5 separate regions of the Homo sapiens genome follow, and all the other regions are linked to region 5. The links are contacts of gene promoters, found by promoter capture Hi-C in blood cells and fetal thymus (Javierre and others, 2016). All regions are on one chromosome and are shown on one strand. The core of a region is centred on a gene start or on the middle of the fragment in contact, and the rest is flanking DNA. Distances in the headings are between cores, read along the strand shown. Region 1 overlaps IL21R (interleukin 21 receptor). Region 2 overlaps GTF3C1 (general transcription factor IIIC subunit 1). Region 3 holds the start of IL21R-AS1 (IL21R antisense RNA 1). Region 4 overlaps IL21R (interleukin 21 receptor). Region 5 holds the start of NSMCE1 (NSE1 component of SMC5/6 complex).

Region 1 (2,700 bases), core at 197-2,696, 170 kb before region 5:
AAATGATGGGTTTTGAAGTATGTATAGTAGTTTACCGGATATTAATTTCCCTACCTAGATGTTCAGGATCTGAACATGACCACTCTCTAGGCCCAGTAGGGATGTGTGGACTGAGTTCTCTGCCAAATTTGCTGGAATACAAGTTCCTGCTGAATAAATGCTCTCCAAGCCTCCCAGCCTGAACTTGCTCCTTATTCCCCCTCACCCTGCCTCACTCCACTCCAGCCACACTGACCTCCTCCCTATTCCTCAAACGCACCAGCTCTTCTCCCACAGGGCCTTTGCACTGGCAGTGCCCTCTGCCCAGCTCCCTGGCTTCCTCCTTCTCACTAGCAGTTGTGGTCCCTTTACCTGAGGTCCAGTGTTCTGTCCTTGATATAGCACCCAGTATTATTAGAAAGTATCCTGTTTGGGGCAGAACACGGTGGCTTATGCCTGTAATCCCAACACTTTGGGAGGCTGGCCATGCGGCAGACCGGCCATCCCGGGGTCTCAAAACCATGGGCGACCTGTGTGGGCGAGAGAGTGGTCTTTGAAGCTGGTGGATAGACCAACCCTGCGGGCTCCTGACTTTTCAAGTCCTGTGAGCCCTGAGTGGTTGTCTGAAAGGCGGGTACAGTGGGCGGATCACTTGAGGCCAGGAGTTCGAGACCAGGTGGGCTAACATGACAAAACCCTGTCTCTACTTAAAATACAAAAATTAGCCAGGCATGGTGGTGCACACCTGGATGCAATCCCAGATACTTGGGAGGTTGAGGCAGGAGAATTGCTTGAACCCAGGAGGTGGAGGTTGCAGTGAGCCGAGATCATGCCACCGCACTCCAGCCTGGGCAACAGAGTGAGACTCCGTCTCCAAAAAAAAGAAAGAAAGAAAGTGTCCTGTTTGGGCCTGGCATGGTGGCTCACACCTGTAATCCCAGCACTTTGGGAGGCTGAGGTGGGCAGATTGCTTGAGCCCAGGAGTTTGAATCCAGCCTGGGTAACATGGCAAAACCCTGTCTTTACAAAAACTACAAAAATTATCCAGGTATGGTGATGCATGCCTGTAGTCCCAGCTACTCAGGAGGCTTAGGTGGAGGGATTGCTTGAGCCCAGGAGGTCAAGGCTACAGTGAGTTCTGATCCCACCACTGCACTCCAGCCTGGGCAACAGAGCAAGACCCTGTCTCAAAAAAATAAAATAAAATAAAATAAAATAAAATAAAAAAGAGAAAGCACCTTGTTGGTTGTTTTGTGTGTCTGTCTCCCCCAGCCTCCGCCCCACCGTGGTACGTCAGTTCCAAGGCATCTGGGGCCTGGTCAGTCTTGCTCTGCTGAATCCCCAGTGCCTGCAACAGTGTCTGGCAGGAACTTAATACATGTTTTGTTTTGTTTTGTTTTGTTTTTGAGTTGGGATCTTGCTTTTTTGCCCAGGCTGGAGTGCAGTGGCGTGATCATAGCTCACTGCAGCCTCGACCTCCTGAGCTTGGTCCCCCTGCCTTAGACTCTCAAGTAGCTGGGATTACAGGATTGTGCCACCACGCCCGACTGATTTATTTTTTGTAGAGACAGGGTTTTGTGATGTTGCCCAGGCTGGTCTCAAACTCCTGGGCTCAAGTGATCCTCCTTCCTTGGCCTCCCAAAGTGCTGGGGTTAGAAACATGAGCCACTGCACCTGGCCTATAAATGGTTTTGAATGAATGAATGAGCTGATGGATAACAGAAGCTCTTCTTTATCCTGAGCTGCATAGGGTCTAAAAGGGACCCATGGACTTTGGAGTTGGGCGGTCTGAATTTGAATCCCAGCTCCAGCATTCACTGGCTGTGTGACCTTAGGCAAGTTGCTTAACCTCTCTGAACCTCAATGTCCTCATCTGTAAAATGGGAGTAATCATTGTGAGGGTTGGGGGTGACCATTCATGGGAAGCGTGTAGTTGGGGGCCTGGTACCTAAGTGCTTGAAAAATCATGCGGGAAACCAGCCATCCCGGGGTCTCAAAACCATGGCCGACCTGTGTGGGTGAGAGAGTGGCCTTTGAAGCTGGTGGATAGACCAACCCTGCGGGCTCCTGACTTTTCAAGTCCTGTGAGCCCTGAGTGGTTGTCTGAAAGGCGGACACAGTGGTCCTCAGTGCACAGTGTCCTCCTGGGGGAATCACTGAGCAGGCACCCTGAATTGCATCCCCGGGGACTGGTGAGGCCCGGCTACTTACCAGGTAAGGGTGAGCGTGCTGGGGTGGAGGTTCCACATTTCCAGGATGCAGATGACCGTCTGGAGGTAATCGGTGTAGCAGACGAGGTCGGGGCAGCCCCAGCCTGGAGGGTCAGTGGGGAGAGAGGCCTTGGTGGGGGGTGGCTTGGGACTGCAGAGCTTCCTCTCCATCCCCTCGAGGGCTGGAGGAAGAATGGGTGCAGGGGTCCCCAGGCCGGGACAAATATGAGGACTCAGGAGCTGCTTAGATGTAGGCCTGGCACCCAGGGGGCCTCACCACCTGGAAATTCCTTGTTTGAGCACCAATGTTTCAAGGCTGGCTATGAAGACAGGATGCATGTGATGGCAAATAATATAAAACTAGCTGGTCCCCAGCTCAGCACCCTCCTCCAGAGCCCTGCGCCCGGCCACCAGGTCTGTGTCCCTCCTGGCCAAGCTCCCACTCAGAATGGCAATATCCTAAATGCCCCAGATGTGGTAGGAACCCAGCCAGAGCACACGCACACACCCC
Region 2 (2,842 bases), core at 140-2,639, 210 kb before region 5:
TGATCTGCCCGTCTCAGCCTCCCAAAGTGCTGGGATTACAGGCATGAGCCACCGCACCCGGCCACAATTTTTAATCATAAAAGAAGACAGAGATTTTTAAAGGAGAGCCCATGAACCATTTAGAGAGAAGAAAAAGTTGCAAGTGTAACAGTTTAATACTGATTGTGATCCTGAGCATTCTGGCAGGCAAGGCAGAATAGAAAATGGTTCCAAGCCAGGTGTGGGGGCTTAACACCCATCATCCCAGCAGTTTGGGAGGCCGAGGCGGGTGGATCACCTGAGGTCAGCAATTCGAGACCAGCCTGGCCAACATGGTGAAACCCTGTCTCTTCTAAAAATACAAAAATTAGCTGGGCGTGGTGGCACGTGCCTGTAATCCCAGCTACTTGGGAGGCTGAAGCAGGAGAATCACTTGAACCCAGGAAGCAGAGGTGGTTTTCACGTTTTCTGAAAAGTTTCTTTTTCTTGGCACTAAATTATAAGAGGAATTTACTATTGCAGTCAAGATTAATTTTTCTGTTAGTTTGTTAGAAACCGAAGAAATGTCCTACAAATGGCCAATTTGTCATATTTTATAAAAAGGCAGTTCTATGACTTATTCTTAAATTTACTTGCTTGGTATACATACAGTAAAATAATATTACATGAAACTCAAAAAAAAAATGGGGAAATGGTTTGTAATTCCAACACCTAATATGGCTACTCTTTGGGGATTTTCATATTTCTTTGTTTTAATTGATGAATAATAATTTTATATATTTATGGGGTACAGTGTGATGTTTTAATATATGTGTTCATTGAGGAAGGATGAAGTCAAGTTAACCAACATATCTGTCGCCTCACCAACTTCTTTTGTTGGCAATACAAACCTTAAAAATCTATTATTTTAGTAATTTCAAAATATGTAATGTGTTATTAACTGTGGTCACCATGCAGTTTTAAATCATGAAAACTTTTTCCTCTGGTCTAACTGTAACTTTATACCCTTTGCTCAACATCTTTCCTTTCTTCATTCCTTCCCTTCCACTTCCCAGCCTCTGGGAACCACCTTTTTCCTTCTTCTATGAGAATAATTTTTTTAGATTACTTCTGGGTGGGACATTTTCTTCTTGTGCTTTTTTTTTTTTTTTGGATTGTAACACACCCACAGTTTTAGGTGCTGTTCCTCTTACAATTAACAGTGGATCTTTGCCAGTTCACATTTTTCCGTGTTGCCACATAATTGTCGGTGAGTGAACATTGCACATTTTCTCAGCCCTCCTTTTTATAACAGGCAGGACAGGGTATATTCTCATTTTAATTTACATGCACAGCACTCGACATTTGGTGAGTTTAACATTTCTCCCACTCCCAACACTTTAGCCAATAAATGGCCATCTTGAGCCAGCATCCGCTTGCTTAGTGAGGAGCTGTTTTGTTTCACTGACATGCTGTTATGTTTCTTTTGCAGGTACCGAGTTTTGGCAATTGGGGATGAAAAAGATCAAACCAGGAAAGAGGATGAACTTAACAGGTAAGTACTGATATATAGAGTAGCTTTTCCTCAGCTGCTTAATAACTTGATGGCTGACAACCTATTGCACTGGGGTAATCTAGGGCCAAATCCAGCCCACTACCTGTTTGTGTGAACAAAATTTTACTGGCATACAGCCATGCCCATTCTGTATGTTGTCTATGCTGCTTTTGTGCAAGAACCTCAGAGGTAAGTACAGTTGACCTTTGAACAATTTGTGGGTAAGGGGACGCCGACCCCCTGCACAGTCAAAAATCCACATAGAACTTTTTTTTTTCTTTCCTTTTTTTTTTCTTTTGAGATGGAGTCTTGCTCTTTCGCCCAGGCTGAAGTGCAGTGGATTGATCTCAGCTCACTGCAGCCTCTGCCTCCTTGGTTCAGGTGATTCTCATTCTTCAGCCTCCCGAATAGCTGAGATTACAGGCACCTGCCACCACACCCAGCTAATTTTTGTATTTTTTAGTAGAGACGGGGTTTTGCCGTGTTGGCCAGGCTGGTCTGGAACTCCTGGCCTCAAGTGATCTGCCCACCTTGGTCTCTCAAAGTGCTGGGATTACAGGCGTAAGCCACCACTCCTGACCCAAGTATAACTTTTGACTCCCTAAACCTAACCACTGATAGCCTACTGTTGATCAGAAACCTTATCAATAACAGTTGATTAATATACAGGTGTAAGCCACTATGCCTGGCCCCACATGTAACTTTTGACTCCTCAAAACCTAACCACTGATAGCCTACTGTTGACCAGAAACCTTATCAATAACAAAGAGTTGATTAATTTATATTTTGTATCTTACATATGTTATATACTGTGCTCTTACAATAAAATAAGGTAGAGAAAAGAAACTGTTAACAAAAATAAGGGGCCAGGCACAGTGCCTCACGCCTGTAATCCCAGCACTTTGGGAGGGCGCTGCCGGCGGATCACCTGAGGTCAAGAGTTCAAGGCCAGCCTGGCCAACATGGTGAAACCCCGTCTCTACTTAAAAATACAAAAATTAGCTGGGCGTGGCAGGTGCCTGTAATCCCAGCTGCTGGGGAGGCTGAGGCAGGAGAATCGCTTGATCCTGGGAAACGGAGGTTGCAGTGAGCTGAGATCACACCATTGCACTCAAGCCTGGGCGACATGAGCAAAACTCTGTCTCAAAAAAAAAAAAGGAAGAGAAAATCTATTTACTATTCACTAAGTGGAAGTAGATCATCTTAAAGGTCTTCATCCTTGTTGTCTTCATTTTGAGTAGTCTGAAGGGACAGAGGAAGAGGAGGGGTTGGTCTTGCTGTTTCTAGGGTGGCAGAGGTGAAAGAAAATCTATGTATAAGTGGATCTGC
Region 3 (2,700 bases), core at 179-2,678, 180 kb before region 5:
CTGATTTTTGTATTTTTTTTTTTTAGCAGAGATGGGGTTTCACCATATTGCTCAGGCTGGTCTCGATCTCCTGACCTCAGGTGATCCACCCACCTCGGCCTCCCAAAGTGCTGGGATTACAGGCGTCAGCCACCGTGCCCAGCCAATCTGGTTGTTTAAAAGAGTCTGGGACCTCCCACTTTGCTCTCTTCCTCCTACTCTTGCCAGGTGACACGCAGGCTCCCCCTTAGCCTTCTGCTGTGATTGGAAGCTTCCTGAGGCCTCACCCAGAATAAATGCTGGTGCCATGCTTCCTGCACAACCTGCAGAACTGAGAGCCAATTAAGCCTCTTTGTAAATTACCTAGACCCTGGTATTTCTCTTTTTTATTTTTTGAGACAGGATCTTTCTGTCGCTCAGCGTGGAGTGCAGTGGCGCCATCTCAGCTCACTGCAACCTCTGCCTCCCGGATTCAAGTGATCCTCGTGTCTCAGCCTCCTGAGTAGCTGGGATTACAGGCATGTGCCACCATGCCAGACTCATTTTTGTATTTATAGTAGAGACAGGGTTTTGCCATGTTGGCCAGGCTGGTCTTGAACTCCTAGCCTCAAGGGATCCGCCTGCCTCGGCCTCCCAAAGTGCTGGGATTATAGGCGTGATCCCAGCCTAGCCTGGTATTTCTTTATAGTGACACAAGGACTAATACAAGGTCCTTCCTTAGGATAGAAGGAGAGTCCTTACTGTGGGGATAATATCAGAATAATGCTAGAACACTTTCTGCTGCAAGGGACAGAAACCCACCTCAAACCAGCTTAAGCAAAAAAGGAAATTTATCAGCTCATTGATTCAGCTAGGGTAGGCAGGGTTATGCTGTGGTAACAAACAGCCCCATCTCAGCAGCTTAGAACAACAAAGGATTGATTCCTTGCTCACGATACACGTCTATCACAAGTGAACTGAAACTTCAGTCCGTATCTCCTTGCTCAAGGACCCAGGTGCCCAGGCAGATGGAGCAGTCACCATCATCATCTGTCTCTGTGACAGAGGAAAAACACCCCAGGGGGTGTGGTAGCCATCTGAAAAATGCTCTGCCCAGAAGTGAGACTTATCACTTCTGCTCACAACTGCCCAGTCCCAGCCAGTCACATGGCCCCATCTGGCTACAGAGGGTCAGGATGTACAATCCTGCCATGTGCCCAGCATATGGTGAACAGCATAATGACTTCCATACTCATGTATCTAAACGGTCCAGGAGAAACGTGGTTTCAGGCATGGCTGGATCCGGGATCTCAAGAGCTATTACCATCTCTCAGCTCTGCTTTCTTGTGTGTTTCTTGCTGCCCCTCCCAGTACCCTCCTTACAGCTTAGTAATCCCAGCAGAAAGAGAGCATGGACCAGCTAGGGTATGTCTGTCCCTAAACTGTACTGTTGCCAGGGGGAAGAAATGTCCTACTGGGCAGGCCTGGTTCACATAGCCACTCCCAGAGCTGGGGTCAGCCACGTCTCCAAACTGCTGCACAGGCAGATGCAGCAGGCACCCACGGCGTCTGCTAAACCTTCCTCACCTCTTGATCTAGGTACGTTCCAGCAGAGCAAGGTGAAAAAGAGCTGAAAGTGGCATCAGAAGCCCAGAGTTCTGGTTCCAGCTCCGACCACTCATTCAGTGTGTGACCTCAGGCAGGTCACCAGCCTGAGCTGTGCCTTCATTTCATCTGTCAGACGGATGACTCTGCCCCTCAGAGCTTGCAGACGGCAAGGTGAGGAATGCGGCAGCTGGGAAAGTGACGTTGCTATCGGTCCCCCTTCCTCTTCAGTGAGTCTTGTCAGCAATTCTGGCCTGGTCTTTGGAGGGCGAGGAGCGCCTGTCCCACTTGCTCCTGACCCTTGGTCGTACCTCCAGGCCTTTGTCCAAGCTCTTCCCTCTGCCCCAAATAGCTGGTACATGTAACAACGCCTATTCATTTTTCCTTTTTTTTTTTTTTTATGAGACGTAGTCTCGCTCTGTCACCCAGGCTGGAGTGCAGTGGTGTGATCTCTGCTCGCTGCAACCTCCATCTCTCAGATTCTCCTGCCTCAGCCTCCTGAGTAGCTGGGGTTACAGGCACCCGCCACCGCACCCAGCTAATTTTTGTATTTTTAGTAGAGACTGGGTTTCACCACGTTGCCCAGGCTGGTCTCAAACTCCTGACCTCTAATGATCTGCCCGCCTCGGCCTCCCAAAGTGCTAGGATTACAGTCATGAGCCACCACTCCCAGCCTCCTATTCATTTTTCGAAGTCCAACCAACACCACCTCCTCCCTGAAGCCCCCTACTCCTCTTGATGTTCTCTCTGGGCTACCATCGGTGAGCTGGGACTCACTCATACCAGCCAGGAGGGCAGATTGTGCATATCTCTTCCCAACTCTGTGTTTAGACTCAAATCAGGAGCATGAAATTACACCATGGAAATAAGCAAATGCTACAAATCAGGCTTTATTGAGTGCCTACTATGTGCCAGGCTGGGACTAAAGGCAGTGAACAAAATAGAGTTGCTGGCCTGGTATAACTTGTGTTTTATCTTTATCTTTGTTTCCAGTATGCATTTATCTCTGTCTATCCAACCAATCATTCTTCCTTCAAGCTTTTTATTAAAGCCATTAAGAGTAATATCAAAGACTTTTGCACCAACTTAATACCATCTTCCTATCCACCCACACATCCATCCATCCTCCATCCACCC
Region 4 (2,794 bases), core at 30-2,529, 150 kb before region 5:
TGGGAGGCTGAGGCAGGCAGATCACTTGAGGTCAGGAGTTGGAAACCAGCCTGGCCAACATGGTGAAACCCCATCTCTACTAAAAATACAAAAATTAGCCAGGCACGGTGGTGTGTGCTTGTAATTCCAGCTATTCGTGAGACTGAGGCACAAGAATCGCATGAACCCAGGAGGTGGAGGCTGCAGTGAGCCAAGATTGTGCCACTGCACTCCAGCCTGGGTGACAGAGCAAGACTCTTAAAAACAAACAAAAAATGTTAACTTGTAAAACAGCCTCAGGCAGGTCCTTCAGGATGGATTCCGGAAGAAGGCATCATTATCATAGGAGATGCCAGCTCCATGTGTGTTTTTGCCACTGAAGACCTTCCAGTGGGACAAAATGTGGAGGTGGAAGACAGTCATATTGGTGATCTTGACCCTGTGTAGGCCTAGGCTAATGTGTCTGCCTGTGTCTTAGATTTTTTGTTTTTTGTTTTCTGGGTTTTTTTGAGATGGAGTTTTGCTCTTGTTGCCTAGGCTGGAGTGCAATGGCGTGGTGTTGGTTTTCCCGGGTTCAAGTGATTCTCCTGTCTCAGCCTCCCAAGTAGCTGGGATTACAGGCGCCCGCCACCATGCTTGGCCAATTTTGTATTTTTAGTAGAGATGGGGCTTTCACCATGTTGGCCAGGCTGGTCTCGAATTCCTGATTGCAGGCGATCCGCCCTCCTTGGCCTCCCAAAGTGCCGGGATTACGGGCATGAGCCACCATGCCCCGCGTGTCTTAGGTTTTAACAAAAAAAAATTTTTTTAAGTAAAAAAATAAAAAATAAAAAATTTTAAAATATAATATATAAAAAGGCTTTTAGAATAAGAATATAAAGAAAAATATTTTGTATAGCTGTACAATGTGTTTGTGTCTTAAGTGTTAGTACAAGAGTGCACGAAAACACTTAAGTGTTATTACAATAAGATAACTGTTATTACAAAAGTGTTATTCAAAAAGTTTTAAAAAGTTAAAATGTTTATAAAGAAAAAATGTTGGCGGGGCGCAGCGGCTCATGCCTGTAATCCCAGCACTTTGGGAGGCCAAGGCGGGCAGATCACGAGGTCAGGTGATCAAGACTATCCTGGCTAACATGGTGAAACCCCGTCTCTACTAAAAATACCAAAAAAATTAGCCGAGCGTGGTGGCGCGCACCTGTAGTCCCAGCTACTCTGGAGGCTGAGACAGGAGAATTGCCTGAACCTGGGAGGCGGAGGTTGCAGTGAGCTGAGATCGCGACACTGCACTCCAGCCTGGGTGATAGAGTGAGACTCTGTCTCAAAAAATGAAATAAAATAGGGCCGGGCGCGGTAGCTTACGCCTGTAATCCCAGCGCTTTGGAAGGGCGAGACGGGCAGATCACAAGGTCAGGAGATCGAGACCATCCTGGTTAGCACGTGAAACCCCATCTCTACTAAAAATACAAAAAATTAGCCGGGCGCAGTGGCAGGCGCCTGTAGTCCCAGCTACTTGGGAGGCTGAGGCAGGAGAATGGCGTGAACCCGGGAGGCGGAGCTTGCAGTGAGCCGAGATCACGCCACTGCACTCCAGCCTGGGCGATAGAGCGAACCTCCGTCTTAAATAAAATAAAATAACATAAATAAAATAAAATAAAATAAAATAAAATAAAATAAAATAAAATAAAATAAAATAAATAAAATAGGAAAAATGTTACAGTAAGCCAAAGTTAATTTATTATTTTAAAAATTCAAATAAATTTAGAGTAGCCTAAGAGTTCAGTGTTGATAAAGTTTACAGGAGTGTACAGCAATGTCCTGGGCCTTCACATTCCCTCAGCACTTAATCACTGACACCCAGAGCAACTTCGAATCCTGCAAACTGCATTCATGGTAAGTGCCCTACACAGGTGTGCCGTTTTTTCATATTTTATATTATGTTTTCACTGTACCTTTTCTATGTTTAGATACACAAATACTTACAATTGTGTTACAGTTGCCTACAGTATTCAGTACCGTATCATGCTGTGCAGGTTTGTAGCCAATTATAGGCTGTAAGATACAGCCTAGGTGTGTAGTAGGCTATACCACCTAGGTTTGTGTAAGTGCACTCTATGACGTTCACACAATGACAAAATTACCTAATGACACATTTCTCAGAATGTATCCTCGTCATTAAGCAATGTATGACTGTTTCCATATGACCAAGAAATTTCACACCTAGTTATATAGTGAAAAGAATTGACCAGATGCAGTAGCTCATGCCTGTAATCCCAGCATACTGGGAGGCCAAGGCGGGAGGGTTGCTTGAGCCCAGGAGTTTGAGACTAGCCTGGGTAACATGGCAAGACCTCATCTCTACAAAAATTAAAATGAAAACATTTTCTGGGCATGGTGGTATGTACCTGTGGCCCCAGCTACTCAGGAGGCTAAGGTGGGAGGATCACATGAGCCCAAGAGTTTGAGGCTACAGTGAGCTGTTTTCACACCATTGCAGTCCAGCCTGGGTGACAGAGTGTGACCCTGTCTCAAAAAAAAAAAAAAAAGAAAAGAAAAAAGAAAGAAAAAGGAAAGAAAACAATTGCGGATATATGTCCAGAAAGAAATGTACAAACCATTGTAGACAAATATTCACAGCAACATTATTCATAATACCAAAAAACTGGAAACAAGCAAAATTTCTATCGACTGGTGAATGGATAAAGAAATGTAGTATATCCATGCAGTAGAATGTTATTTAGCCATATAAGGGAATGAACTACTGATACGTGCTACAAAATGGATGAACTTTAAAAATTCATGCTAAAGTAAAGAC
Region 5 (2,700 bases), core at 148-2,647:
AATCTGTATTATTTTTATTGTTGAACTGTTATTTTTTACTGTTTTCCCCCACAAATATTAACCACCCACAGTTGCTTCAATCCGTAGATGGGGAACCTGTAAACATGGACAGCTGACTGTACTTTGTCCTATGTCTCAGAGACACTGAGTTTAAGGCCCAGGATTCCATGTTGACCATCCAGCTCCAAAGCTGAAGCTTTTAATCACCACACACCACTGCTTTCCCACTTAGCAGATGAAACTGAAGCCCAGAGAGGTTAAGAGGTTGTCCAAGATCACAGGGGTGGTGAGTGACCAAGCCTGGATTTGATCTATCCTCACAGAGACAGATATTTGCAGGTACTGCTGTTCTATATTAGTTACCTGTTTCCCTTGCTAGGCTGCATCCCTAGCTCTCAGACCAGGGATAGAATTCAAACGTTTGGAAAATTAACGCCTTGAAGACTCAAAGCAGTCCATTCACTTCCACGAGTAATTTCACTTGCTTTCTCACAATCCCTAGGTAAGATAACAGTTAACATATAATCAGCACTCCCATGTGACACTTTTCAATGGCCATGCTAAGCACCTGATATAGGTGTTATTATCTCTTGTAAATCTCACCAACACTATTTTGCAAGAACTAATATCCTCATTTAATGGAAGAGGAAACTGAGGCTCAGTGACTTGCCCAAGCGCCTGCCAACTAGTAAGTGGCAGAGCCAGGATTCTAGATCAGGCTCTATGACCACAGAGTCCACATTTTTCTTTTCTTTTTTTTTGAGCTCTGTCACCCAGGCTCGAGTGCTGTGGTACGATCTGGCTCACTGCAACCTCTGCCTCTCGGGTTCAAGTGATTCTCCTGCCTCAGCCTCCCGGGTAGCTGGGATTACAGGCACACACCACCACGCCCGGCTACTTTTTGTATTTTTAGTAGGGACGGGGGTTTCACCATGTTGGCCAAGCTGGTCTCGAACTCCTGACCTCAAGTGATCGGCCCGCCTTGGTCTCCCAAAGTGCTGGGATTACTTACAGGCGTGAGCCACCGCGACCGGACCAGAGTCCACATTTTTGACGTCGAGGCCACACTCAGTTCCACAGATGGGGAAACTGAGGCCCGGGGCAGGGCACTACATTGTGCCAGCGGAATGGTGGCCATTGAGGGAAGCCCAGGCTGCACGCCAATTCTTCCTCCTTGGTCAGGGAAGTCACTGAGGTGCAGGAGGCGGAGGGCGACAAGTGGAAGCCCCTTCCCATTATTAAGGATCGAGAGCGGGCGTAATTTGGGATCTAACCCACGAGGCGGAACCACCAGGGCAATGGCGCAAACGGAGAACCGGAAGTGCGTCACTCAACGGACGGGCGAATAAGCCGCAGGCCACCAATGGGAACGCCGCGTTCGCGTTCGCCCCGCCTCAAAGGAAGAAGAGTCCACCTTGCGACCGTATCCGCTAGCGCGGCCTGGGATGCGCTTGGGCTCCCTGGTGGGTAACGTGGGGAGCTAGGGGTTGGAGGGGAAAGAAGAGGGACTTCAAGGAAGGCGAGGGGAGGACGGAAGGTGGGGTGGGCGAGACAGGCAGTGGGGTCCGGCCCCGGGGTCGGTCCCCGTGGGCTGTGGAACTCGGGGACTGGGGTCTTGGGGTTTCCCCCTTCTTGATGGGGAAACTGAGGCCCAGACAGGGGCCGCAGAAAACAGCGGACTGGGATGTCCTCCCGCAACACACACGCAGACATCTAAAAATCTTACTATTTAGTGAAAAATATTTTTAATCGTAATTACGATTTAACAGGTAAAGATACTTTTCATTGTAACAGGTGAAAAAGCAAAATATAAAATTCGATTCAAACTGTGATTACATCTATGGAAAATACAGCCTTTGCCGACCACCCTCTTTGTCCCGCCGCCCTCCGTGCTCCCCTCTGTTTTGTGTACGGAGTTTCTTACTTTGTACAAGTCCGCAGCCGCTTATGTTACAGCCCCGAGGCCAGATGCGTTTAAAATCGAGGAGTTCTCGGAGTTTGGAAAGGTAAAGTCCCTATGTTCTATGTTAGGTTTCACCCTCAGAGGGGGCTGGAGCAGCGGCTTGTAATCAAATACACGACCCTTTCCACAGCTAAAGTTATGAAGATACGCATATATTACATTGACCTGGTCGCGGTGGCCCACGGCTATAATTCCAGCACTTTGGGAAGCTGAGGGGGGCGGATCACCTGAGGTTCGGAGTTCGAAACCAGCCTGGCTAATATGGTGAAACCCTGTCTCTACTAAAAATACAAAAAATTAGCCGGGCGTGGTGGTGCGTGCCTGTAATCCCAGCTACTCGGGAGGCTGAGACGGAAGGCTGAGGCAGGAGAATCGCTTGAACCCGGGAGGCGGAGGTTGCAGTGAATCAAGATCGTGCCACTTCACTCCAGCTTGGGCAACAAGAGCGAAACTCCGTCTCAAAAAAAAAAATGCATATATTTACACTGTTGGGATAAATAACCATAAATAGCCTCACCTTAAGTCAGGTCAAGTTTTCCAACTTAAACAAGTTTTGGTATTCAGACTTTTTTTTTTTTTTCCCCTGCATCCGATCATCCACTAGTATTCATACCTTTTTAGATTTGAGGGTTGCAGATGAGGGACCTGGATTGTAGTTGTTCTGTTCACTCACTTTTCTCACTCTCGCTGGATAGAGAGTGTCCTTGAAAACAGGAACTGTGCTGTTGTATGGTCAC

What was found. The method cuts DNA at HindIII sites, captures the fragments that hold promoters and counts their contacts. A CHiCAGO score of 5 or more calls a contact.
Region 1: a fragment that was not itself captured here is called in contact with the fragment with the promoter of NSMCE1 in region 5 in 10 of 17 cell types (total B cells, activated CD4 T cells, non-activated CD4 T cells and 7 more); the score reaches 9.6 in total B cells.
Region 2: a contact is called between a fragment that was not itself captured here and the fragment with the promoter of NSMCE1 in region 5, in 2 of 17 cell types (naive CD8 T cells and total CD4 T cells). The highest score is 5.8, in naive CD8 T cells.
Region 3: a contact is called between a fragment that was not itself captured here and the fragment with the promoter of NSMCE1 in region 5, in 11 of 17 cell types (activated CD4 T cells, non-activated CD4 T cells, naive CD8 T cells and 8 more). The highest score is 15.8, in activated CD4 T cells.
Region 4: a contact is called between a fragment that was not itself captured here and the fragment with the promoter of NSMCE1 in region 5, in 9 of 17 cell types (activated CD4 T cells, fetal thymus, monocytes and 6 more). The highest score is 9.6, in activated CD4 T cells.

The regions. Positions count from the first base shown.
Region 1 is chr16:27,433,940-27,436,639 of GRCh38, reverse strand. IL21R (interleukin 21 receptor) reads right to left here. Exons shown (of 9, transcript NM_181078.3): 3 at 2,191-2,293. Among named protein-coding and RNA genes, the nearest start is that of IL21R-AS1, 18 kb to the left of the region's middle. The HindIII fragment of the contact is 7,943 bases long and covers 1-2,700 here.
Region 2 is chr16:27,477,140-27,479,981 of GRCh38, reverse strand. It overlaps GTF3C1 (general transcription factor IIIC subunit 1), which reads left to right. Exons shown (of 37, transcript NM_001520.4): 28 at 1,451-1,513. Among named protein-coding and RNA genes, the nearest start is that of IL21R-AS1, 25 kb to the right of the region's middle. The HindIII fragment of the contact is 5,121 bases long and covers 1-2,842 here.
Region 3 is chr16:27,451,780-27,454,479 of GRCh38, reverse strand. IL21R (interleukin 21 receptor) reads right to left here. Exons shown (of 9, transcript NM_181078.3): 9 at 2,438-2,700. It overlaps IL21R-AS1 (IL21R antisense RNA 1), which reads left to right and starts at 1,087. Exons shown (of 3, transcript NR_037158.1): 1 at 1,087-1,383; 2 at 1,558-1,737. RefSeq lists an enhancer at 1,580-1,679. The HindIII fragment of the contact is 2,351 bases long and covers 253-2,603 here.
Region 4 is chr16:27,416,895-27,419,688 of GRCh38, reverse strand. The region is part of intron 1 of IL21R (interleukin 21 receptor); the gene reads right to left. Among named protein-coding and RNA genes, the nearest start is that of IL21R, 16 kb to the right of the region's middle. The HindIII fragment of the contact is 5,619 bases long and covers 1-2,794 here.
Region 5 is chr16:27,267,469-27,270,168 of GRCh38, reverse strand. It overlaps NSMCE1 (NSE1 component of SMC5/6 complex), which reads left to right and starts at 1,397. Exons shown (of 8, transcript NM_145080.4): 1 at 1,397-1,463. NSMCE1-DT (NSMCE1 divergent transcript) reads right to left here and starts at 1,964. Exons shown (of 5, transcript NR_037184.1): 1 at 1,925-1,964. RefSeq lists a silencer at 1,424-1,503. The HindIII fragment of the contact is 3,617 bases long and covers 199-2,700 here.